6 separate regions of the Homo sapiens genome follow, and regions 1, 2, 3, 4 and 5 are each linked to region 6. Evidence: promoter capture Hi-C in 16 types of primary human blood cells and fetal thymus (Javierre and others, 2016). All regions are on one chromosome and are shown on one strand. Each heading gives the region's core, a stretch centred on a gene start or on the middle of the fragment in contact. The rest is flanking DNA. Distances are from core to core; before and after follow the strand shown. Region 1 holds the start of KRT18 (keratin 18). Region 2 has its middle 3.2 kb from the start of KRT8. Region 3 has its middle 19 kb from the start of KRT18. Region 4 has its middle 7.9 kb from the start of MIR9898. Region 5 has its middle 20 kb from the start of KRT8. Region 6 holds the start of KRT85 (keratin 85).

Region 1 (4,004 bases), core at 924-3,423, 580 kb after region 6:
CCTCCCACCTGGCAGGTCCACTGGCCAGGCTTTTCCAGGGTCCCTTCTCTCCCAGGTCTGCCCTACTATTTGTCCTCCCCTTCCCCCTCAGCTGGTAGCTCGATAAGAATCAATAGGTCCACTCCAGAGCAAAGAACACAGCCAAATGTGTCATACCAGGCCCTGCCAGAAAAACGAGCTGCTGGAGCTGACAAACTTGAAGGCCAAACACCTAAGGGTTCCCCCCAACACTTCATTCAGCAGGGATGGTCATTCAGCTTCAGGGGGCAGGCAGCATGAAAGCCTCCCTACCTCCATCCTTCTCACACAGAGGCTGGGGAGAGCATCTTGGAGGATGCAGTCCCCTGGGGCCAGGCTTCTAATCCAGACAGCCCTTACAAGGGGGGACAGGGGAAGGACTGGCTTGGAGAAAAGTCCTAGAAAAGAGGGGAGGGGCACTGGCCACCAGGGCTGGGTCGCTGCTATGATGGTCCTAGGAGTGCCTGCCTGTCCTCTCAGGCCCCATGCGATGTAGGACACATTACTTTTATTTATTTATTTATTTATTTATTTTGAGTCAGAGTTTCGCTCTGGTTGCCCAGGCTGGAGCGCGACGGCACGATCTTGGCTCACTGCAACCTCTGCCTCCTGGGTTCAAGCGATTCTCCTGCCTCAGCCTCCTGAGTAGCTGGGATTACAGGCACACACTGTGCCTGGTTAATTTTTGTATTTTTAGTAGAGAAGGGGTGTCACCATGTTGGTCAGGCTGGTCTCAAATTTTTTTTTTTTTTTTTTTTTTTTGAGACAGAGTCTTGCTCTGTTGTCTAGGCTGGAGTGCAGTGGCATCGAACTCTTGACCTCAAGTGATCCACCCGCCTCGGCCTCCCAAAGTGCTTGGATTACAGGCATGAGCCACTGTGCCCGGCGATGTGGGACACATTATCATCTCTGTGAGAGATTTTTGGTCTCTTTTGTCACCGCCCTTCTCTCCCAGCTCCTAGAACTGGGCCTGGCTCACAGTAGGTGCTGAATGCATACTGGTTGAATTGTAAATGCTCAGGATTTGTTTAATTAAGGATGCAGGAAAGGTGATATACCGGTGTGCAGAAGTCAGGATGCATTCCCTGTCCAAATCACAGTGTTCCACTGAGGCAAGGCCCTTGGGAGTGAGGTCGGGAGAGGGGAGGGTGGTGGAGGGGGCTCAGAGACTGGGTTTGTTTTGGGGAGTCTGCACCTATTTGCTGAGTGAATGTATGTGTGTGTGCATTTGAGAGCACACCTCTGTATGATTCGGGTGTGAGTGTGTGTGAGGAAACGTGGGCAGGCGAGGAGTGTTTGGGAGCCAGGTGCAGCTGGGGTGTGAGTGTGTAAGCAAGCAGCTATGAGGCTGGGCATTGCTTCTCCTCCTCTTCTCCAGCTCCCAGCCTTTCTTCCCCGGGACTCCTGGGGCTCCAGGATGCCCCCAAGATCCCCTCCACAAGTGGATAATTTGGGCTGCAGGTTAAGGACAGCTAGAGGGACTCACAGGCCATTCCACCCGCACACCACCAGACCCCCAAATTTCTTTTTTCTTTTTTTTTTTTTTTTTTTTTGAGACAGAGTCTCACTCTGTCGCCAGGCTGCAGTGGCGCGATCTCGGCTCACTGCAACCTCCGCCTCCCAGGTTCAAGCGATTCCCCTTCCTCAGCCTCCCAAGTAGCTGAGACTACAGGCGTGCACCATCACGTCCGGCTAATTTTTTGTATTTTAGTAGAGAGGGGGTTTCACCATGTTGGCTAGGATGGTCTCGATCTCCTGACCTCGTGATCCGCCCACCTAGGCCTCCCAAAGTGCTGAGATTACAGGCGTGAGCCACTGCGCCCGGTCAAGACTCCCAAATTTCAAACTCGCCAGCACCTCCTCCACCTGGGGGAGAAGAGCATAATAACGTCATTTCCTGCCCTGAAAGCAGCCTCGAGGGCCAACAACACCTGCTGTCCGTGTCCATGCCCGGTTGGCCACCCCGTTTCTGGGGGGTGAGCGGGGCTTGGCAGGGCTGCGCGGAGGGCGCGGGGGTGGGGCCCGGGGCGGAGCGGCCCGGGGCGGAGGGCGCGGGCTCCGAGCCGTCCACCTGTGGCTCCGGCTTCCGAAGCGGCTCCGGGGCGGGGGCGGGGCCTCACTCTGCGATATAACTCGGGTCGCGCGGCTCGCGCAGGCCGCCACCGTCGTCCGCAAAGCCTGAGTCCTGTCCTTTCTCTCTCCCCGGACAGCATGAGCTTCACCACTCGCTCCACCTTCTCCACCAACTACCGGTCCCTGGGCTCTGTCCAGGCGCCCAGCTACGGCGCCCGGCCGGTCAGCAGCGCGGCCAGCGTCTATGCAGGCGCTGGGGGCTCTGGTTCCCGGATCTCCGTGTCCCGCTCCACCAGCTTCAGGGGCGGCATGGGGTCCGGGGGCCTGGCCACCGGGATAGCCGGGGGTCTGGCAGGAATGGGAGGCATCCAGAACGAGAAGGAGACCATGCAAAGCCTGAACGACCGCCTGGCCTCTTACCTGGACAGAGTGAGGAGCCTGGAGACCGAGAACCGGAGGCTGGAGAGCAAAATCCGGGAGCACTTGGAGAAGAAGGGACCCCAGGTCAGAGACTGGAGCCATTACTTCAAGATCATCGAGGACCTGAGGGCTCAGGTAAGGGGTAGGAGGGACCTCAACTCCCAGCCTTGTCTGACCCTCCAATTATACACTCCTTTGCCTCTTTCCGTCATTCCATAACCACCCAACCCCTACTCCACCGGGAGGGGGTTGGGCATACCTGGATTTCCATCCGCGCACCTAGCCACAGGGTCCCTAAGAGCAGCAGCTAGGCATGGGAGGGCTCTTTCCCAGGAGAGAGGGGGAAGGGGACAGGGTTGAGAGCTTTACAGAGGAAGTGGACAGCATGGAGGGAGGTAAGGAAAGGCCTGTAAAGAGGAGGAGACACTGGCTCTGGCGGAATGGGGACTATTGGAGGGTTAAGCGGATGTGGCTAAGGCTGAGTCATCTAGGAGTAAACAAGAGGCCTTCCTTTGGGAGGAGCCAATCCAGGGTGTAGGGGGCCCAGAGTGACCAGGTGCACTAGGGAAAAAATGCCAGGAGAGGGCCAGGAAGAGGACTTGTTAGTAGCGACTCACTTCTGGGCAGGCAGGCCAGCCAGCTAGCCAGCCTGCTGAGGCTTCCCAAGAGGGGCAGAGTGCTGGGATCTGGGAATCCAGGAAAGGAGGGAATGGGGTGGGGCTAGATGAAAAGGGATAGGTGTCCAGGGAGAGCCTCTGGCTATTCCTGGGACCAGGAAGTTTTCACTAGGATACATAACACTTTTTACACACTCACCCCACCCATCCCTGGCTTTCTATTCATGGAACAACCTCTCTCTACAATCCCTCCAGATCTTCGCAAATACTGTGGACAATGCCCGCATCGTTCTGCAGATTGACAATGCCCGTCTTGCTGCTGATGACTTTAGAGTCAAGTAAGTTTGGGGGCTAGAGAGCTGGGGGTCCAGGGGTGGAGCTAAGAAGGATCTGCTCCCCAGGCTGGGTCAGTTAGGGGCTCACAGTGGGATCCTGTTAGGTGTGGGTGGATGAGAGTCAGGGTCCATCAGTGTATTCATTTAACTGTTCATTTGTATAACCCCGTTTAAGAATACTGTCCTCCAAGTGCCAAGAATGGTGCTCAGGGGATTACCACCTAATTGCTGACTCAAGTTGCTGGTTTGCAATGGGCACAGAACTTCTCTTAGTAGGTGGCATGAGTTGAGAAGGTTCTGGATCAGAGATAGGGGCCCCTCTGATCACCTCCACTCCTATAGGTATGAGACAGAGCTGGCCATGCGCCAGTCTGTGGAGAACGACATCCATGGGCTCCGCAAGGTCATTGATGACACCAATATCACACGACTGCAGCTGGAGACAGAGATCGAGGCTCTCAAGGAGGAGCTGCTCTTCATGAAGAAGAACCACGAAGAGGCAAGCAGGGGCCACTGGCCAGGCCAGGGATTGAGGGGCCAA
Region 2 (4,016 bases), core at 651-3,150, 540 kb after region 6:
GGGACTTCATAGTTCTTGCTCTTTGCGGGAGTCACTCCCATTGCTCCCAGTGAGTGAATCATGGGAAGTGAGACAGGACGGCAGGGGGTACAGTGGAGTGGTGTGGCACTCGTGGTGCTACCTGGACCCTCCTGCTTTACCCAGGCTCCCAACGGGCCAGAGGAAATAGAGGAAGAGTCCCTGCACCTGTCTCCCATTATCAAAGTGAGTCAGGAGGGCAGGTTGGGACGTAGCACGCACCTGTGGGAGGTTGGAGATTGGGGAGCTGAGCAAGGCACCCCAGGCCTGGGTGGGGCCAGGCAGGGCATGCTGTGGGTGGAAGGCAGGAGGTTTAGGTCCCCAAGGCAGAGATTCCACCTGCAATTACCTGATGGCTGGGGCTGGGTTCTCTGGAAGATACTGCAGGGTGTGATGTGGGGACTGGATGAAACTGAACTCAGAGGACCAACAGATGACAGCCAGATCCCCTTGAGGAGAGGGACAGGTGACATAGCCCTGACCCAGGGAAGGGGGTGACCACCTACTGGGAGGACAGATGTACAGTTTCTTCCCCATCCTTCTCTAGGAGAGACACCCAGGCTCACAGAAAGACAGGCACATAGGACCCCTACCCAGAAGGACAGAGAGACCCAGAAGCCCCCTCCTTGGAGGACAGACAAACTTAAAAAGACAGACACACAGACAAGCTCTCTTCACAATGCACGCGTGCATACACACACACACACACACACACCCCACACATTGAAGTCCCTTCCAGAAAAATGCATAGATCCCAAGAGCGGGCACAGTGAGTGGCTCCTTCACCTCCCCTCCCCTCCCCAGGCCCTGCCTCCTGCTATGCTGAATGGAGCAAGGGAAATTCAGTTAGCACCTATTTACACCAGGCCTTCTCCCAGCTCCTTTAAACAATGCCTAATTTTCCCAAGAGTGATTGGAAGGCATGCTACCCCCTCCCCAACAAACACCCGCACCCACCAGGGCTGAGAAGCTTTTAACAGAAGACCAAAGGGAGAAGGACTGGGCCCAGTGCCAAACCTGGGACAGGGAAGGCGGAAGGAGGGAGGGAGGGGCTGGTCAGACGGGTATGGCAGCCCTGGAAAGGGAGGACAGGCGCTCTCCCTATCTTCCCTCCCCCACGCTGCTGTTAGAGGGAGCAGGGGGCACTCAGGTCCTGATCTAGGCAGCACAAGGAGCAAAAAAACAGCACCCCAAAGCCTTTCCTGAAATTCCAGTCCCCTCCACCCCACCTTTCTGGTTCCCTGGTTCTAGGAGTGTCCCTTGTTTAAGGTGAGGACAGAGGGGGTTGCCAGGGACCCTGCAGTATGCAGGCTGGAGGGCTGACCCAGACCTTACCCAGCCAGGGGAAGCCCTTTTTTTCTGGGGCAGCCCAGAACCGTCTAGGGCCAGAAGTGTTTGTGTCTCATTTGTCATCTCTCTATTGCCCAGAGACCCCAGCCAAACCTTCCCCCAGATGCCCCAAGCACAGCCTCGGTGCAGGAGAAGAGGCCAGAGTTGGCCTCTCTGATGGCCCCTGCCTGGGACTTCAGGGTTAAAGGCAGAAGGAGAAGGCCCCTGGGACTAGGGCCAAGTGGTGAGGGAAGAGAGAACCAGACTGGAGCAGGCCCACAGGTACAACTCCTTGTAAGGCATTGTGGTCTACACACAGCTGCCTGCCGGACAAAAGGGAACAACGTGTTTGCGGTGCCTGCCCTACCCAGACAACTCTGCCTCAAACCGCCTTTCCTGGAGAGTGAACCAGGGAAGGAGGAGACACTCACTCCCTGTGGGCCAAGAGTGAGGGCCAGGCCCCCTACTTCTGATGGTGCAGGATAATTCAGAGAAGGCCCTGAGACCCTGAGCAGTGGCATTAAGTCTTGGGGCCAGTGGGGTGGGGAGGTAGCTGTTATCATCACTCATGATCATGGGAAGAGATGGTCTGAACAAGTTTTTTTTTTTCTTTTTTGAGACGGAGTCTCGCTCTGTCACCCAGACTGGAGTGCAGTGGCGCAATCTCGGCTCACTGCAAGCTCCGCCTCCCGGGATCTGAACAAGTTTTGCTTAGAGATCAGGACTGATGATCTCATTCGCTGCAACCTTGTTCATAATAGCCAAAGAGTGGGAACAAAACAAATGTCCACCAAATGACGAATGGATTTCTTTAATGTGGCATATCCATACGATCTAATGTTACAATTAAAAGGAATGAACTACTGATGCATGTTGGATGCAGATGAGCCTTGAAACCCGTATGCTCAGTGAAAGGAGACAGTCATAGAAGATCAGGTACCCTATGATTCCATTTATATGACATGTGCACAACAGGCAAAGCATAGAGACAGGAAGTAGATTAGTGGTTGCCTAGGGAGGGGAGGAATGGAGATGAATGCTAAAGAGCACAGGGTTTCTTTCTGGGGTGATGAGAATGTTCTAAATTTGATGGTGGTGGGCAGGCACAATGGCTCTACCTATAATCCCAGCACTTTGGGAGGTCGAGGCAGGAGGATTACTTTAGCCCAGGAGTTTGAGACCAGCTGAGCAACATAATGAGACCCCCGTCTCTACAAAAAATACAAAAATTAGCCAGGTATGGCGGCACACGCCTGTAGTCCCAGCTGCCCTGGAGGCTGAGTTGTGAGGATCACCTGAGCCCCGAAAGTTGAGGCCGCATGCATTGAGCCAAGACTGTGCCACTGCACTCTAGCCTGCGTGGGAGACAGAGTGAAACTCTGTCTCAAAAATAAATAAATAAATAAACAAATTTGATGATGGTGAAGCTGCACAAGTCTGTGAACATACTAAAAATCACTGAACTGCAAGCTTCAGATTGTTGAATTATATTGTATGTGAATTACAGCTCAACAAAGTTGTAACAAAAAGATAACCACAAAAGCATAAATGAGCTACATATAAAAAGCAGGGGCTTTGTGCCCAGCATAAGGGGTCAGGGGAAAGAAGCAAAGAGTTTGTTTAGATGCCCCAGGTAAAGAGGCTTCCTGCCTCTGGGTTAAGGCAATGCCCGAAAAGCACCCGAAATCCCTTTAAATGATGGAGCATTTTGAAATGTTATTATTGGTATAGAAATAGCTGCATTTAGCATAGAGACAGCAGAACAATTTGTTTAAATAGGAAGCCACAGGTGGTGGGTACACCCCTCAGGAAGCAGCATCATGAATAATAGAGTCAATTCGATTGCTAATTTTGTGTTATGTGCCTCAAGGCTAAAATTTTTCATTGTCAAAGCTTAGCAAATGCTGACTTTTTTGCTCTTGATCAGTGATGGATCTGATGATTAAAGCCAGCCAGGATGGAAATGGACTGCCTAGAGAGGGAGCAACCTCCTGTACCTGGAGACATGGAGAGGGACCTTGCTCACCAGCTGTCCACTGGCTCAGTGGGAGGGGGTTCTCACATCTGCTAGGGTTTGAATTAGAATGTCCAAGTCCCGCCAACTCTGAAAGCTTTTGATCCACATCCACCACCATAGAGCTTTACGCACTGAAGATGAAAATCTGTGAATGTTCTCTGGTTTGAAATTTTGCTTGTGATAAGAGATATGATTAGAAATTATTAGAACAAGAGTGAGGGAGGACAGCACAGCCTTGTTGTGGAGGAAGGAGACACAAGCCCAGCAGCCTGAAGATGTTGAGGTCTCCCACACTTTTTTTTCTTTTTTTTAGAGACAGGATCTCACTATGTTGCCCAGCCTGACTCGAACTCCTGGATGCAAGCAATCCTTCTGCCTCAGCCTCCCAAAGTACTAGGGTTACAGCGTGAGCCACTGCACACAGCCTTTCTCACATTTTCAACATTCTCTCACCCTCCTCTCCACTGATGCCAAACCAAGAAGGTCATCCCACTGGGTGAGCATGAAGCCTAGGCGGAAGGTCCCAGCTATGGCTCAGTCCACAGAGTCCTTCCCCTTAACTCTGGTTCTCCATCACATCAAGATCGCCCGTGGGAGATTATAACAGTATACGTGCTCAGGTCGCACCCCGTCTGCATTTTCAAAGCTTCCT
Region 3 (4,475 bases), core at 980-3,479, 600 kb after region 6:
TGCGCACCTGTTATCCCAGCAACTCGGGAGGCTGAGGCAGGAGGACTGCTTGAGACCAGGGGTTGAAAAACAGGCTGGGCAACAAAGTAAGACTCCATCTCTACAAAAAATTTTAAAATTCACCTGGCGTGGTCGCGTGTGCCTTTGGTCCCAGCTACACAAGGGGCCCAGACGGGAGGATTGCCTGAGCCCCAGAGGTTGAGGCTGCAGTGACCCATGTTTGCACCACTGCACTCCAGCCTGGGTGACAGAGTGAGATCTTGTCACAAAGATAAATAAATAAATAAGTAGAATGCAGAGCAATGAAACCCTCATATGTTGCTGGTGGGAATACAAAACGTGTACAACTACTTTGGAAAACAGTTGGGCCGTTTTTTCTAAGTTTAAAAATACACCTCCCAGCGCGGTGGCTCACGCCTGTAATCCCAACACTTTGGGAGGCTGAGGCGGGCGGATCACGAGGTCACGAGTTCAAGACCAGCCTGGCCAATATGGTGAAACCCTGTCTCTACTAAAAATACAAAAAAAAAAAAAAAATAGCCAGGCGTGGTGGCATGCGCCTGTATTCCCAGCTACTTGGGAGGTTGAGGCAGAAGAATTGCTTGAACCTGGGAGGCGGAGTTTGCAGTGAGCTGAAATCTTGCCATTGCACTCCAGCCTTGGGCAACAGAGCAAGACTCTGTCTCAAAAAAAATAGTAATAAAAATAAAAATATACTTACCAGCTCGGTGTGGTGGCTCACACCTCTGATCCCAGCACTTTGGGAGGCCGAGGTGGGTGGATCACCTGAGGTCAAGAGTTCGAGACCAGCCTGACCAACATAGAGAAACCCCGTCTCTACTAAAAATACAAAATTAGCCAGGCGTGGTGGTGCATGCCTGTAATCCTAGCTACTTGGGAGGCTGAGGCAAAAGAATCACCTGAACCCGGGAGGCGGAGGTTGCAGTGAGCCAAGTTTGTGCCATTGCACTCCAGCCTGGGTGACAAGAGTGAAACTCCATTCTCAAAAAAATAAATAAATAAAATAAAATAAATAAACAGATGGTTCAAGTTTGGCCTCTCCCAGTAGGAATCCTCTTTGTGGCCTTCCTAACATCTGGCCTCCGTTTGAAGAATTTATGACAGTATAGCCCCTGTTGGATAATAATTGTATAATTACTGGAACATTATTGTTCCTTCTACTGGGCTGAAATCTGCCTCCTACTAACCTTCTAAACTCAGCTCTGCCCACTAGAGTTACACAGAACTCCCTCTTCCATTAGATTTCAGCCATAAGTGATTATTCTTCCCCTAACCTGTATAAAAGCAGCCCCAGTCACGGTGTAAGGATTTAGCTGCACTGCTGGCCTCAACCTCACCTGCCTGAATGAGCTGGAAAATAATTATCTACACAGAAACAGCCCAAGGAATTAGAATGATAGTGATGCTCAGATCCGGGGAGGCTGTGTCCCCCTGAAGGCCCTGGTCAGATCCTGGTGAAGTGGATGGTGCTGCCACAGGAGGGATGTAGGGTAAACTTCTCAGAGACTCAGGGCACTCCAGTGATCTGGGCCCAAAGCACACAGTTCCTTTTCCTCTCCCCACAATCCACACTGGAGCAGCAGGCTCTAGTGGGCCCCTCCCAGGCTGGCAGAACTTTCCCTATCACCCACTCCCCAGAAGCAAAAAAAGTTTAAAAAGCACCAGCCTAAGGCTGGGTGCAGTGGCTCATGCCTGTAATCCCAGCACTTTGGAAGGCTGAGGCGGGCAGATCACAAGGACAGGAGTTCAAGACGTGCCTGACCAACATGGTAAAACCCCGTCTCTACTAAAAATACAAAAATTAGCCAGGCATGGTGGTGCATGCCTGTAATCCCAGCTACTCGGGAGGCTGAGGCAGGGGAATTGCTTGAACCCGAGAGGCAGAGGTTGCAGTGAGCCAAGATCATGCCATTGCACTCCAGCCTGGGCAATGGAGCAAGACTCCGTCTCAAAAAAAATAAATTATTGTACATTTAAAAATAACTAAAAGAGTATAATTGGATTGTTTGTAACATAAAGGATAAATGCTTGAAGTGATGGATGCCCTGATGAGATTATTATGCATTGTATGCCTGTATCAAAATATCTCGTGTACCCTAAAATAGATACACATACTGGGTACCCACAAAAATTAAAAACTTTTTTTTTTTTGAGACAGAGTTTCACTCTTGTTGCCCAGGCTGGAGTGCACTGGCTCAATCTCGGCTCACTGCAACCTCCGCCTCCCAGGTTCAAGTGATTCTCCTGCCTCAGTCTTCCGAGTAGTTGGGATTACAGGCGCCCACCACCACACCTGGCTAATTTTTTTTTTTTTTTTTTTTTTTTGGATTTGGAGTAGAGACGGGGTTTCGCCATGTTGGCCAGACTGGTCTCGAACTCCTAACCTCAGGTGATCCACCTGCCTCGGCCTCCCAAAGCGCTGGGATTACAGGCATGAGCCACCAGACTCAGCCAAAATTAAAAACTTTAAAAAATAAATTAATAACCACAGCAGTAGCTAGTAGCTAATGGCTACCAGATTGGACAGGACAGTGCAGCACCAGACTGTAAGCTCCCTTTGAGCAGAGACTGGACTATCTTGTTCACTCTTATGCCCTGATACATAACACAATTCCAACACATAAACAGCAGGTTGTTATTTTCTTTTTTAAAGACAAAAATTTGAAATTGTAATTTTTATTAAATTGTAAATAAAATGTTATTTTATTTTATTTAATAACCTATAGCATTTGCCAATATCCAAGGTATAAATACTGCTGTCATGGTTGATTTAAAATGGTTTAATTCTGGGAAGCAAAATTTTCAAATTTAACAATCTTCTCTTACTAGCTTTTGAATGAATAAGCAAATGAATGAACAAATAAATGAGCAAATAACAAACCAAGAGGAGTCTCTGCATGCCTCACCCAAGGAAAAGAGGACAAAGGAGAGTAGAAGAATATTTCAAGATGCCAGCAGTCCTCTCACTCTCTTTGCAGGTCCTCTTTGTTCCAGGAAAGAGAACTTAGTGGGAGAACAATTGAACTTCCTCAGCTTCGCTTCACACACACCCCAGCTTTAAGAAAGCCCAGGAAGAATTTGTTTTTTTTTTTTTTTTTGAGACGGAGTCTTACTCTGTCACCCAGGCTGGAGTGTAGTGGCGTGGTCTCGGCTTCTCAGCTCACTGCAACCTCCACCTCCCAGATTCAAGCGATTCTCCCGCCTCAGCCTCTCCAGTAGCTGGGATTACAGGTGTGCACCACCACGCCCAGCTAATTTTCGTATTTTTAGTAGAGACAAGGATTTCACCACGTTGGCCAAGCTGGTCTCAAACGCCTGACCTCAAATGATCCACCTACCTCGGCCTCCCAAAGTTCTGGGATTACAGACATGAGCCACCTCACCTAGCCTTTGGATTACAGACATGAGCCACCTCGCCTAGCCTTTTTTTCTTTTTAAGGAAAAAAAGAAAAATAAAATCTCATCTTAATCTGCTCCATTTTTTTTTCTTTTTAAAGAAACTTTCCCAAGTCACTTAAACAGTCTTCGTAATGGGAAGGCACTCAAACTATAAATCTCCCTGTCATTTAGGAATGCTCAGTGCAAATGTTTATAGAACCCGGGCACCACTTTCAACCTCTCCTTTGAAGAAGGGCTTTGTAATCCTCCTCTGGGGTCACTCCTACATTCCAAAAATGTTCAGGAAAGGAAGGGAAGGTGCCCACCAGTGGGACAGCTTAGACCCAGGTCCCCACCCTCAGGTTCGGCCCTAAGAACATAAAGATACAAGAAAGGTCACGAGGTTAATTCAAAGCCAAGGAATGTCATGGCAGTAAATGCTGCAGGTGTTCACGGGGAGGATGATGGCCATGATTTGTGGCAGAAGTGAAACCTGAGAGATGCTAAGACTTGTGCAGTGGGAAAGGTGAGAAAATAATGAGAACAAAGTCCCCAAGGCTTGGCTGCATGCCTGGCAGCTAGTAGGTACTGCATAAATACAAGTTCATTGGCTCTCCTTGAGTTGTCTGGCTGGGGTCCCAGAGACTGAAACTTTGCTCTTGGCTGCAGCAGGGGCAAGATCGCAGGGGTGGGTACATGCCAAGCCCCAGGCAGCACGTCACCAGAGAGATAATCTTGAGCTGGTGGGAGCAGCCAGGCATGCAGTGGGGCTGAGCTGAGCCAAAGCACAAAACAAAAAGGTCTCATCCCTGTGGCTATAATCAAGGATGCCAACCCTCCGGCTGCCCCAAGACCCCAAGCCTAGATAAGGAGACAGCATCCTGCCTGAAGAGTGTGGCTCTGTCCAGTCGGGGTCTCAAAGGCCTACTGCCCACTTTGGTGCTGCCTTTAGCCCTGTCTAGCACCAGACCCAGCCACAAGGAGCACCTCAGGACTATGGCATACTTCTGTTGACCGGATGGTCACAGCCGTGGTCAAATCAAAGCCTTCTTGGGGTTCCCTGGAGCTGTCACTCA
Region 4 (4,055 bases), core at 1,414-3,913, 520 kb after region 6:
CCTGAGACAGGGACTGGTTCACCCTAGATGCCCAATGTTTGCTGAATGACTGAACAAATGAAATTGACTTTTCTGGAATATGTATTGTTTTTCCAGATCAGCTAGAAAGAGTTTGAGGACAAGGATCCTGTGTTATGTGTCTTTGTATTCTCCTCTGCCACCATCCTCCCCAGCTCCCAGGCACCAGGCACACACTCTAGACATGTTGCAAGCCAAGTTCTGCCCTAACTCTGTTCTGCTCACCCCTTCCTCAGGCACCTAAAGAGTGTCAGTTGCTGTCATGGGCTGGGTGTGGTCCAGAATCTCTTCAAGGCCACTTCATGGGGAAATACTTTCAAAGATCAATCCACCAGCTGTTTCTGGACTAGGTCTGAGCAAATTAATATATCTCCCCAAAAGGAAAGAGTTTAAAAGGGTTAAAATTGCAGAAAAAGAAATAGATGGCTGGCCAGGCATCGTGGCTCACACCTGTAATCCCAGCACTTTAGGAGGCTGAGGCAGGCGGATCATGAGGTCAGGAGATCGAGAGCACCCTGGCCAACATGGTGAAACCCTGTCTCTACTAAAAATACAAAAATTAGCTGGTTGTGGCGGCACATGCCTGTAGTCTCAGCTACTCAGGAGGCTGAGGCCAAACAATCACTTGAACCCAGGAGGCAGAGGTTGCAGTGAGCCGAGATCATGCCACTGCACTCCAGCCTGGCAACAAAGTGAGACTGTCTCAAAAAAAAAAAAAAAAAACTTATCAAACTCCCAAATTGTTTGGGCCAGGCTCGGTAGCTCACTCCTGTACTCTCAACACTTTGGGAGGCCAAGGTGAGTTGATCATGAGGTCAGGAGTTCAAGACCAGCCTGGCCAAAATAATGAAACCCCGTCTCTACTAAAAATACAAAACTTAGCCAGGCATGGTGGCATGTGCCTGTAGCCCCAGCTGCTCAGGAGGCTGAGGCAGGAGAATCGCTTGAACCCAGGAGGTGAAGGTTGCAGTGAGCCGAGATCATGCCATTGCACTCCAGCTTGGGCGACAGAGAGAGACTTTGTCTCAAAAAAATAAAAAAGATGGCTATCAATATGGAAATGGTTCATTCCTTTTTATTTGATAATTTTTATTGACCACCTACTATGTGCCTGGCACTCTGCTAAACACTGAAGAATCAGTGGAGAACCAAGCAGATATGGTGTGTCCCTGCCCTCATGGAGCTTACAGTGTATGGGGAAAGGCTGATATTAATAAAATACCTCTGCAGATGAATGAGTGACTGTAATTTACAAGGAGAAAATACAGGGTGCCTTGGGAACTTATCATAGAAACACGCCACTCAGTTTGTGGTGTCTAGAAGACTTTCTTGTCTTGTGGTGTCATAAAACTTTTTGTCTTGTCTTGTGGTGTCAGAAGACTTTCTTGGGGAAGCTGCGTTTGAGCGGAAAGCTTGGGAGTGACTAGGAAAGGCAGGGTGTTCCAAGCAGGGGGCCAGCCATGCAATGCCCTGAGCAGAAGCAAATTCCATGTAGGCTATGCCCTGAAAAGCCTGCACCACTGCATCAGAGAGCAAGGGACAGAGTGGCCAGGATGAGGCCTCAGAGGAGGAAGAGTAGGCACAGCCTGTGGGCCAAGTCAAGATTTAGGGCTTTATTCTGGGTGTCAAAAGTAAAGGGTTTTCCCATCATTCTGAGCAAACTATTGCAAGGGCAGAAAACCAAACACCGCATGTTCTCACTCATAGGTGGGAATTGAACAATGAGAACACTTAGACACAGGGTGGGGAACATCACACACCAGGGCCTGTCGTGGGGTGGGGGTAGAGGGGAGGGATAGCATTAGGAGATATACCTAATGTAAATGAAGAGTTAACGAGTTAACGGGTGCAGCACACCAACATGGCACATGTATACATATGTAACAAACCTGCATGTTGTGCACATGTACCCTAGAACTTAAAGTATAATAAAAAATAAAGAAAGAAAAGAAAAAAATAAAATAAAAATAAAGGGTTTTCCATATAAGGAAGTAACTGAATCTGATTCATATTTTTGAGAATGCACTCTGATTTTGGGGGCAGTGAACTATTCTGTATGGTACTGTAATGGTGGCTACATGGCCCCCACAGAATGTCCACACTAAGAGTTAACTCTAATGTGAACTATGGACTGTGGGTAATAATGATGTGTCAATGTAGGTTCATCAATCGTAACAAATGTATCCCTCTGAGGTGGGATGTTGATGATGTTGTAACAAATGTAGCCCTCTGGTGTGGGATGCAGGTGTAGGGGCAGAATGTGTATGAGAACCCTCTACCTCCTGCTCGATTTTGCTATGAACCTAAAATTGCTCTTTTTTTCTTTTTTTTTTTTTTTTTTTTTTTTGAGACGGAGTCTTTCTCTGTCGCCCAGGCTGGAGTGCAGTGGCATGATCTCAGTTCACTGCAAGCTCTGCCTCCTGGGTTCACACCATTCTCCTGCCTCAGCCTCTCGAGTAGCTGGGACTACAGGCGCCTGCCACCACACCCAGATAATTTTTTTGTATTTTTTAGTAGAGACGGGGTTTCACCATGTTAGCCAGGATGGTCTCGATCTCCTGACCTCGTGATCCACCCGCCTCAGCCTCCCAAAGTGCTGGGATTACAGGCATGAGCCACAGCGCCTAGCTAAAACTGTTCTTAAAAAATAAGTCTACTAAAAAAAAGTGCACTCTGGCAAGGGGCCCAAGTGAACCTTCTGTGATATAGGAAATGTTCTACATTACAGGTGTGAACATAAGTTAAAACTCATCAGGCGCCGGGCACGGTGGCTCACGCCTGTAATCCCAGCACTTTGGGAGGCTGAGGCGGGTGGATCACCTGAGGTCGGGAGTTGCCTGACCAACACGGAGAAACCCCGTCTCTACTAAAAATACAAAATTAGCCCGGCGTGGTGGCGCATGCCTGTAGTCCCAGCTACTCAGGAGGCTGAGGCGGGAGAATCGCTTGAACCTGGGCAGCGGAGGTTGCAGTGAGCCGAGATCGTGCCATTGCACTTCAGCCTGGGCAACAAGAGTGAAACTCCATCTCAAAAAAAATAAATAAAAATAAAAATAAAAAAACTCATCAGGTTGTACATTCCCCATTAAAGCACATTTTGCATTTTATTGTATGTACAATATGCCTCAGCAAGGAGGAAACAAAGGGACTTGTGATTGGCCAAGGCTGGCCCATTGTGAACCCTGTGTGCCTGGACAGAGGTCCTGTGATCTTAGGAGGAACAGTTCCTGAAAAGAAGTGGGGCGTGGCAGGAGTGGAGGTGGGGGAGCTTTGCATTACTAGAAGAAGGGGGAAGGGGTCCTGGCTAGACAAAGCAACTATGCCCACCACAATGTGTAAAAGGGCAGCGCGGAGAGTGAACTAGGGGGCCACCCACCATGCTGGTATCCTTCCCTGCCTTCCTTTCCTTGCAGTGGTGCTTCCTCTTCCTTTCCCAACAGGTAGAATCTATGATATATAATTACGTAGGGACATGCATGCACACATTTCTATCTATCCTTCATGAAGGGTATGTACTGTCCGCATTGTCACATGCCTTGCTTTAACATTCACTCCTCCATTCCCACCACCTTACACTCCAGTCAGCCTGGCCCTCGGTCCTTAGCCCACCTTCAGATCCCCCTACTACAGGGGAGCTCCTAGACCACCTTAGCCCAGATCAGCGGGCAGGCAGAGCAAAACCTTGGAATTAAAATATCTTCAGAAGAGTCCACAAATGCTTGGAAGACTCATCATTTTAATCCTGGGTGGTTGGGTCGGGAAAGGCAGGGTGGAGGGAAGTGGGGGATAATGGCTGGCTCATCTGGAATAGTCAAACAGGAACCTTCTTCTACACATGTAAATTTTCTAAAAAACTAAAATTCAGTCCCATAGGAAATCAAGCTTTAAAAACAAAAAGTCTACTAAAATTTAAATGTGCACACATTTTGCTTCAGCAATTCCACTTGTAGGAATTATTAAGATATCCTCACCATTGTCATAGCAAATACCAATAGAGGACTGGTTAAGTAAATTGTGGCACATCCCAAAGTGGAATA
Region 5 (4,413 bases), core at 1,613-4,112, 560 kb after region 6:
CCAGGCGTGGTGGCACATGCCTGTAATTCCAGCTACTCGGGAGGCTGAGGCAGGAGAATCGCTTGAACCCAGGAGGCAGACTTTGCAGTGAGCTGAATTTGTGTCACTGCACTCCAGCCTTGGCGACAGAGCAAGACTCTGTCTCAAAATAAATAAATAAACAAACCTATAAGGAAAGTACAAATAACCTCATTTTACAGATGAGGAGATGAAAGTTCAGAAACTTTCCATCTACTTCCTAAGTCATGTAGCATCTAAGTGCTAGGATCAGAATTCCACCCAGCTCTTCTGGCTCCAAAACCCAAAGTTTAGCTTCCCAGTCCCCTGGATCTAGGCAGACAGTCTGGGAGATGCAGGAGGCAGGAAGGCAGATTCTGCAGCCAGCATGAGAGCTTGAACTGATCGGCCAACACCTCTGATAAAGGAAGGTGCCTTCCAGAAGACCTCCAGGAGCTTCCCCGCTGATCTGGGGAAGCTCAGGAAGCCCAGGACAGCTGAGTGAGGGTTCCGTAGCCAGGCTCCCAGCTCTCTGCCCTCCCACTCGTCCTGTGAACTGACCCTCCCTCACATCATTGCACTTCTGCAAATTCCTACCACTACCTCCAAAGTGCTCTAGGATGTGTGATTAAAATCAAAGCGTTCTAAGGTTTATGATGAAAATTAAATGAAATTAAGTTAAATTTTTGTTTTGAGAATTGTTTTAGACTATTCCTAGAAGAATGTGCAGTAGCAGGAAAACATAAGTTTGGAAATCAAATAGCCTGTGTTCTAGTCTCAACTCGGTCTCTAAATTGCTGTGTGACATTGGACAAGTTACTGCTCCTCTCTGAGCTACAGTTGCCTCATCTATATAATGAAGGGGCAGGACCATTTATTCCTAAATTGTTTTGTTTTGTTTTGTTTTGTTTTTGAGATGGAGTCTCGCTGTGTTGCCCAGGTTGGAGTACAGTGGCTTAATCTCAGCTCACTGCAAGCTCTGCCTCCTGGGTTCACGCCATTCTCCTGCCTCAGCCTCCCGAGTAGCTGGGACTACAGGCGCCAGCCACCACGCCTGGCTAATTTTTGTATTTTTAGTAGAGACGGGATTTCACCTTGTTAGCCAGGATGGTCTCAATCTCCTGACCTCGTGATCCGCCCGCCTCGGCCTCCCAAAATACTGGGATTACAGGCGTGAGCCACCACGCCCGGCTCTAAATTATTTTTATTACTAATTATTAATTTTTGAAATTATTAAAATTACCTGTATTATTACATTTAAATTAATATGGATTTTAGAGCTTTGAATTGCCTAAAGTGCTTGCAGTGTAGTGAGAAAAGCATTATATATTTTTTTTTTCGAGACGGAGCCTCGCTCTCGCCCAGGCTGGAGTGCAGTGGCATGATCACTGCTCGCTGCAACCTCCGCCTCCCGGGTTCAAGCGATTCTCCTGCCTCAGCCTCCCGAGTAGCTGGGATTACAGGCGCCCGCCACCACGCCTGGCTAATTTTCGTATTTTTTCAGTAGAGACGGGGTTTTACCATGTTGGCCAGGCTGGCCTCAAACTCCTGACCTCAGGTGATCCGCCTGCCTCAGCATGAGCCGAGTTGTGAGCCACCCACCACACCCGGCCAAAAGCATTATACTTAAAATCATACATTAGGCCAGGCGCAGTGGCTCATGCCTGTAATCCCGGCACTTTGGGAGGCTGAGGCAGACAGATCACAAGGTCAGGAAATCGAGACCATCCTGGCTAACACGGTGAAACCCTGTCTCTACTAAAAATACAAAAAAATTAGGCGGGCATGGTGGCGGGCGTCTGTAGTCCCAGCTACTAGGGAGGCTGAGGCAGGAGAATGGCATGAACCCGGGAGGCGGAGCTTGCAGTGAGCTGAGATTGCGCCACTGCACTCCAGCCTGGGCGACAGAGGGAGACTCCGTCTCAAAAAAAAAAAAAAAAATCATACTTGATTTGGGCTCTCAGCTTTTGTTCTCTCATATGTAAAATAAATTAGATTGAGGCTGCAGTGAACTATGACAGGCCACTGCATTCCAGCTTGGGCGACAGAGCCAGACCCTGTCTCAAAAAAATAAATAAAAATTTAAAAATAAAATAAATTATATGATGATAATGTTTGTAAAGATAATTGTAAAGATAATTGTAATTTGTAAAGATAATTGCTTGTATAGGACACTACTGTATAGGACACTACTGTGATGGGAAAAGACCATGCACTCTTCTCTAAGAATTCACCGTTCCTTCTGTCTTTTGCCTTCCTCCCCTCAGCTAAAGGGCTCCTGGAGTGAAGTGGACCCTCAGCTGTACTCTGTGGTCTGCGGCAACAGCCAACGCACAGAGGAGCATCCTCTCCTTAACTAAGCACCGAAAGGGAGTGAAAGGGTAGACTGAAGGAAGGACTTACTAATTCAAGGAGTCATTGGAGCAGAAATGAGTGACCAGGAATGGGGAGGATGCGTCTGTGGAAAAGGAACAGGGCTGGGCCCCCTTCTCACTGGTCCTAGATGGGATCAGGCCTGCCCAGAAGCCAAGAAAAAGATGTTGTATAGACCTCAATGGGGCAAGGCCGGGATGATTGAGGGGATACCTTCAGGGGAGGAGGTGCTAGGCAGTTTTCTGAAAATGGTGCGTTCAGACAGCTCACTATTTCCTGTAGTAATTCCAGGAAAAGACTGAGTAAGACAAGGTCAGGACCGGGAGGAATGCAGCTGGAGGAGGTGTGTATGCACAGTCTCCCCAGGGTGAGCCTGTCCAGAGCCATAAACCTTATCTCCTTCCTCTGAATAGCTGGGATAGCTATCTCTGGCTCCCAGGGGCTCAGGCTGAGTCAGGGCTGGAGGCTGGGAGAGACTGTGGGCCCCGAAGCATACCTAAAACTGTGAGACCACTCAGCACTTAGGTATGAATGGCGCCATTTAGGGTCTGAAATGGTCACCATTTTCAGAAACCTGCTCAACACCTCTTCCCCTGCAGGTATCCCCCTCCGTCATCCTGGCCTTGCCCCATTGATACCTGAAGTGTGGCACATTCAGGAATGAGATTGGAGCAAAAGGGATCTCTTTGGCGGAGGTGGGGTCAAAGAGATAGATTAGGATGATTCATCTCCACAAAGGCTAAGGCTTTAGATTCCTACCAGCCAGCCCCAGGCCAGAAATTTCCCCTTCAAGGAAAGTTGGGCTCCAGGGCTGGGCAATACTATCACCTCAATTATCCCTCTGTTCCTGAGTTCTAGGGTTTATGCACAGTTCTTAATGGGGCCTAATAGTTTCTTTGTCTCTTCCAGCCCTCTATCTTAGAGGACAGGAGGTGGAGCCTACCAACAAAGGGACCCAGGTTCCAGTTCCAGGGCTGCGTTTCTCTCCCCCTCAGGGCCCATTACTCTGAGCTGGGCCCCAGGTAGGGGAGGAAGGAGGAGAAAGGAGGCAGTGTTCTCATGTTCTCTGTGTCCCTGAGAAATTCCCCACCTCCCTTTCAAGCTCCCTCCTAGCAGGCTGGTGAGACCTGCCCTGGAGACAGGCTGGTGCGAGAGGCCCCCTCTGCAGAGTGGAAGGGGGTGACATAATTGCCTGTCCTGAGACTTCTAGACATGTACACACTGTCCCTCTGCCTGGTGTGTCCCTGCCCCCCGCCCCCCACCACCTCTCCTGCTCGCTCAGGTATCCTCTCCAGTGCCCAGCCAGACTGATCTTCTACAAACACTGCTTTGATCCTGTCACTCCCTAGCCCAGAGCTTCCCGTTGCCTTCAGAATAAAGGTCAAATTCCTCATCTGGTGGCTGAGGCTTAGCCTTCCCCACCTGGCACTAGCTGCCCTCCCCACCCCACCCCCAGGACTGTGCCCTCCTCTCCTGAAGCACCTCCTTGTCACCTGCACCTGTTGAAACCTTACCCTTCCTGCAGGTCCTGGCTCCAGCTCACCCCATTCATTCCGCAAACATTTGCTGAATGAAAATCATGCATCAGGCACCTCCCCACAAAGCCTGCCCCAGTCACCTCTGCCGGAAGTGGCCACTCCTATAGAGACCCCAAGAATAGGGCTTTGTTACACCCCTGGGCTGGGTTACACTTGCTGTGGGCATGTCTGAGCTCCCCTCCCTGATTGTAAACCTGATCCACAGTCATTTAGCATGCACTGAACATCCACTATTAATGAGGCATTTTCCATATTTGTCTCATTTGACCCTCACAAGGACCTTGGGAGTTCAGTCTTCTTATCCTTATTTACAGATGAGGAATCCAAGGCTCTAAGAAGTAATGTGCCCAGCAAGTAGTAGTCAGAGCTCAAACCGGAGTCCTGTACCCTAAGTCCAGGGCCCGCACATCAGCGCCAAGGCATCTTCCTCAAAAGTAGGGGCGTGTCTTATACATGTTTCTGCTTCCCTCCACACCCAGCACAGGAACTTGTTTGATTCACTGAA
Region 6 (4,228 bases), core at 1,579-4,078:
TTGGCAGGGAGATCACAGAGCCCATGTCATAAAGGTAAGCTGTGAAGGACAGGGACATAGAGAGTGCTAGAATTCCACTGGATTTCCTCTCTTCATTCCCCCAGAAGTAGCTCTAAGGCTCACAGGGGTGGAGTCTTAGAGGTGAATCCCAGGAATCTGAAGAAATCTAGGCCCCACTGGATATCTGCTCTGGGTTCCAGGCAGCCTGCTAGAGGAATCTGAAAGAAGCTGTGGCAAGAGGGCTATGGGCAGAGCCTCCCAGCATTCTCTCTGAGTTTCCCCTGAGTCCCCCCAGCTTGCTGCACTCACTTCTTCTTGTAGCCCTCCAGCACCTCCTGCACATGGTTGAGCTCTGAGGCCAGCCTCCCGCTGTCGGCCTCCACGCACTCGGCCTCCCGCCGCAGAGTCTCGATGTAGCCACTGAACAGTGGCTCCAGGTTGCTCTCGCAGCAGCGCTGGTTCTGGTAGAACTGCCACTTGGTCTCCAGCAGCTTGTTCTGCTGCTCCAGGAAGCGCACCTGCCATTCAGGTGGAAAGAAGAAGTCAGAGGGAGCCTGGGGGGAGGCACCTGGTCCCCCACAGTCTCTCTGCCCTCGGGTGCTGGCTGAATGGGCTGAGCCATAAAGCTGAGTGTCTGCGGCTCAAGGGGCCCATTCCCAGGCCCCCAGGGAGGCAGTTGTGGGTGTGAGGGAAAGCAGTCTGACTCAAAGCCAAAGGTCTGTTTCGAGCCCCAGTTTTGATACTTTAGAGAGCAAGTTGTTTAACCTCCTGGGGCTCAGTTTTCTCCTTTCCAAAATGGAGCGAATAGTGTCTGTCTTAGCACTGTTGTGAAGCTTGAACAAGTTAATGCATATCAAGTGCTTAGAACAGTCCCTGACACGTAGTAAATGCTCAGTCTATTTAACTATTATTATAATTACCAGTTGCCCTTCACTTGCTCATTTATGCAACAAACACTTATTAAATATTTACTACTTAGTGCCAAGGCCTGTGGTAAGATATACACATCCATGTCTAATGTCTGTGTCTATGTCTATATCATCTAACTATGCATTCCATTCAATTATCACAGCCCTGTGGGATGTAGATATTACTTACCCCATGTTGCACATGGGGAAATTGAGACCCCCAAGGTGTGAAATGCCCAGCTCATGGTAAGCGATAGTCTTGAGATAGGCATGCTCTGCCTCCCCCTACAGCATGTCTGAGATGCTCGTATACACCCCCTTAGCTCCAAGTTGCTGTCTGATAAGTGGAGACGCTGATACCCACTCCAACCCGTCACTGTGAGGATGGACTCAGATCACTAAAGAAAGAGTGAAAACGTGAAGGTGACTGCCTCTGCCCCCAAACCCTGATCCTAGGCCCCCAAAGCTGCTCCTTCTGCTCTGCTAGAGGCCTGTGGACACAGGAGGAGCCTGTGAAGGAGGCTCCCAGCCTCCCCCGACAAAACTTTCTTGGGAGGCAGCCTCACAGCTATGCAGCGTTCTCCACACTCTGGCTGCATTAGGGGGCCTCCTCCTACCAGCCTGGCCACCTCCCTGTCTGCATTTCAGCCCTCTCTCATGAAGGGGCTGCCAGGCCTGGGTTGGCTGTCACACCTCCTCACCTACCACTGTCCTTGGAAAATAATGATAGTAGCAGCTAACATGTATTGAGTGCTGACTATTTGCCATCATGTTTCATGCATGGACTCATTAATTCCTCACAGGTGGATGAGGCAGTCCTGTTATTCAGCAGAGTAACCTGCCTGGGGTCTCACACTGCTGAGTGATGCAGCAAGGACTTGGGAGAGGCAGCATGGCTGTGGGCATTACCCCAGCCCCTTCACGGGCTGCCTGGCTAGGAGCCACAAGGTCTTTTGGTCTCCCCGTTATCTCCCACTCTTCCAGCACCTGCTGCCCAGTCTGGTTTTTCAGACACAGTTCTGATAGTCCTATGTCGTCTTGGCTCAAGAAACACACACACGCTCACACACATGTACACACTCACATGCATACACACACATATGCTCACACACATGTACACACACACATATACACACCACACACTAACATACGTACAGGCGCACACACCGCTACACACACACACATGTACACACACACACATGCACACACTTTGGATCACAGGCTCAATTTCTAGACCACACCTGGACCTCGTTAAATGCTGCGGGAGTTAAGTGATGGAAACTGACCCTTCCACCTGTATGGGTCTGCACGTCATTCCCTCTGCTGCCTCAAACCGGCAGCCATCCTGTCTCCTCAGCAGACTGGGACCTCCCCAAGGGAGGACAGGGCTGGAGGCTTCTCTGGGCCGTCTCAGGCCTCACCCACCTTGTCGATGAAGGCCGCGAACCTGCTGTTGAGGGACTTGATCTGCTCCTTCTCCTCCTGCTTCACGCACTGTGCGTTGGGGTCGATCTCCAGGTTGAGGGGCGTGAGGAGGCTCTCGTTGACCGACACGGTAGTGATGCATGGGGGGCTGGGTCCGCACACGCCCCCGGAGCGGTAGCCGAAGCTGCGTCCGCAGGAGCCGGCTCGGAAGCCACCTACAGCTATCCGGGGCCCGCAGGAGCCCAGGTTGCAGAGGCTGCGGCTGCCGAAGCCCGTCAGCCCTCGGTAGCAGGACACCCCTCGGTAGGGGGCGGCGCTGATGCAGCAGCGGTTGCCAGTTTTGGGGGCCACAGCTGAGCAGGAGCTGAAGTTCCTGGTGACCCCGCATCCTGAGCTGATCCTGTAGGAGCGGCACGACATCGTGTGAGGCTGAGCAGAGTCTGAGAGGCAGCGGAAGGTGGTGCGGGCGGCAGAGTGCGAGGCTCAGGATCCTTCTGCTCTCTCTGATCCTCCCTGGTCCTTTTATTGGTGGGGAGAGCTGGGGTTGGCTGCATAAAAGGAGTGGAAAGCCATTTTATGTTGTTTATGGGCTTGGGGAGTTTGCCAGCAACTCCCCACGGACTCATCTTAAAGGTGAGCTCAGCAGCGACTCTGGGGCTCCCTGAAGTCTTGAAGATGTTATTAAGGAGACTGCATTTGAACTTTTCATCTTCAAAGCTCGTTTACATACATTAAGTAATTAATTTTCTCACAGTCTTTCTGTGAGATGGCCTCAACCCACACTTGGAGACGGATTTGAACTCCACAACAGCCTGGGGGTGGCTGGGTTTGGGATACAGGCAGGAGCCATTGTCTCAAGGGAGAGGTTGGAGGGTCCTGGGTTAGGTGAGACTTGGGGGATCATTGCATTCATCTATCTGGTTCCACAGAGGACACATTCTCAAGTAAATCATTGCATTTCAGGGGCCAATAGGTCAGGCGAATCCCACCCCATCTAGGCAGCATTGCTTGGAAGGTGGTTCAGGACCAGAGCGGTCATTTTGACCATGCCCGTGCCAGGATAAAAGGCTGGGGCAGATGATCTCTTGGAACCTTCTGGATTCCAGCCCAGAAGGCGCTGGTCCAGAGCTTTCACTTCTCACCCAGCAAAAGTGCAAACCACAGAACTCTCAGTGGCCACAATAATGGCTACTTGCGGATTATGGGGAGACTCCCTCTAGCCACTTTCTTCCATTCGGTCAAAAGGATTGGAGAACTCAACCTTGGGATAACCTGGGGGCTATAAATTTGCTGTGGGCACCTTTGCTTTGCTCTTTAAGAAGAAACAGGTCATGTGAGTCTCCCTTCCCAGACCACCAGCTACAAGAGGTATTCCTTCTGTTGGCCAGCCCTTGAATTGTCATCCCTAGAGGAGTGTTTAGAGACTGCATTGCACAAAGCTGGAAGTGGGATAGTGGTTTATTCTTGTCTAAGGTGGCTATGACTTCTGGCTCCTGGGGGTTCTGGGAGCCCCATCCTTCTAGTTTCTGCTTCCCTGTGTGTCCTTGGGACACTTATTAGGATAACAAGTGCTATTCTTTTAATGTTTATGGAGTACAAACCTTGGGGATGTGGGTCTGCCCCCAGGAAGGTTAGCCAGACACCCAAGTGTTAGGAACTTAAGGAAGAAGAGCCGATGAGCTTCCTCAGAGGGTGACTCCTCCTCCAGGAAGCCTTCCATAACCAAACACTGCCATCATGCTGCTGTTCTCATAAGTCCTTCACGAAATGCCCTGTACTCTGTCCTGCATCTGCTCTAATCTCCACAGCCAGCTGACCTCACCCAGGACCTTCACCCAGGATCAGGCTGATCGATTCCCACCTCACCTCCACATTCCACATTGTTCTTCAGGGCA

What was found. The method cuts DNA at HindIII sites, captures the fragments that hold promoters and counts their contacts. A CHiCAGO score of 5 or more calls a contact.
Region 1: the fragment with the promoter of KRT18 here is called in contact with the fragment with the promoter of KRT85 in region 6 in 6 of 17 cell types (M0 macrophages, M2 macrophages, M1 macrophages and 3 more); the score reaches 13.6 in M0 macrophages.
Region 2: a contact is called between a fragment that was not itself captured here and the fragment with the promoter of KRT85 in region 6, in 1 of 17 cell types (M0 macrophages). The highest score is 8.4, in M0 macrophages.
Region 3: a contact is called between a fragment that was not itself captured here and the fragment with the promoter of KRT85 in region 6, in 7 of 17 cell types (M1 macrophages, M0 macrophages, M2 macrophages and 4 more). The highest score is 14.1, in M1 macrophages.
Region 4: a fragment that was not itself captured here is called in contact with the fragment with the promoter of KRT85 in region 6 in 13 of 17 cell types (M1 macrophages, M2 macrophages, M0 macrophages and 10 more); the score reaches 18.2 in M1 macrophages.
Region 5: a fragment that was not itself captured here is called in contact with the fragment with the promoter of KRT85 in region 6 in 2 of 17 cell types (M1 macrophages and erythroblasts); the score reaches 5.2 in M1 macrophages.

Annotation. Positions count from the first base shown.
Region 1 is chr12:52,946,945-52,950,948 of GRCh38, forward strand. It overlaps KRT18 (keratin 18), which reads left to right and starts at 2,174. Exons shown (of 7, transcript NM_000224.3): 1 at 2,174-2,646; 2 at 3,384-3,466; 3 at 3,806-3,962. The coding sequence starts at 2,230. It also overlaps a transcript of KRT8 not described here. RefSeq lists silencers at 821-1,115, 1,873-1,992, 2,003-2,082, 2,123-2,172, 2,834-2,857 and 3 more, enhancers at 1,506-1,880, 1,569-2,162, 2,163-2,756, 2,580-3,779, 2,691-3,345 and 1 more, promoters at 1,762-1,841, 1,762-1,772, 1,850-1,932, 2,142-2,203 and a cis regulatory region at 1,850-1,932. The HindIII fragment of the contact is 10,122 bases long and covers 1-4,004 here.
Region 2 is chr12:52,906,281-52,910,296 of GRCh38, forward strand. It overlaps a transcript of KRT8 not described here. Among named protein-coding and RNA genes, the nearest start is that of KRT8, 3.2 kb to the left of the region's middle. The HindIII fragment of the contact is 1,829 bases long and covers 987-2,815 here.
Region 3 is chr12:52,966,333-52,970,807 of GRCh38, forward strand. No RefSeq gene overlaps it. Among named protein-coding and RNA genes, the nearest start is that of KRT18, 19 kb to the left of the region's middle. The HindIII fragment of the contact is 7,174 bases long and covers 1-4,475 here.
Region 4 is chr12:52,889,101-52,893,155 of GRCh38, forward strand. No RefSeq gene overlaps it. Among named protein-coding and RNA genes, the nearest start is that of MIR9898, 7.9 kb to the right of the region's middle. The HindIII fragment of the contact is 2,470 bases long and covers 1,429-3,898 here.
Region 5 is chr12:52,922,528-52,926,940 of GRCh38, forward strand. It overlaps a transcript of KRT8 not described here. Among named protein-coding and RNA genes, the nearest start is that of KRT8, 20 kb to the left of the region's middle. The HindIII fragment of the contact is 7,195 bases long and covers 1-4,413 here.
Region 6 is chr12:52,364,653-52,368,880 of GRCh38, forward strand. It overlaps KRT85 (keratin 85), which reads right to left and starts at 2,829. Exons shown (of 9, transcript NM_002283.4): 1 at 2,334-2,829; 2 at 310-518. The coding sequence starts at 2,753. The HindIII fragment of the contact is 4,446 bases long and covers 832-4,228 here.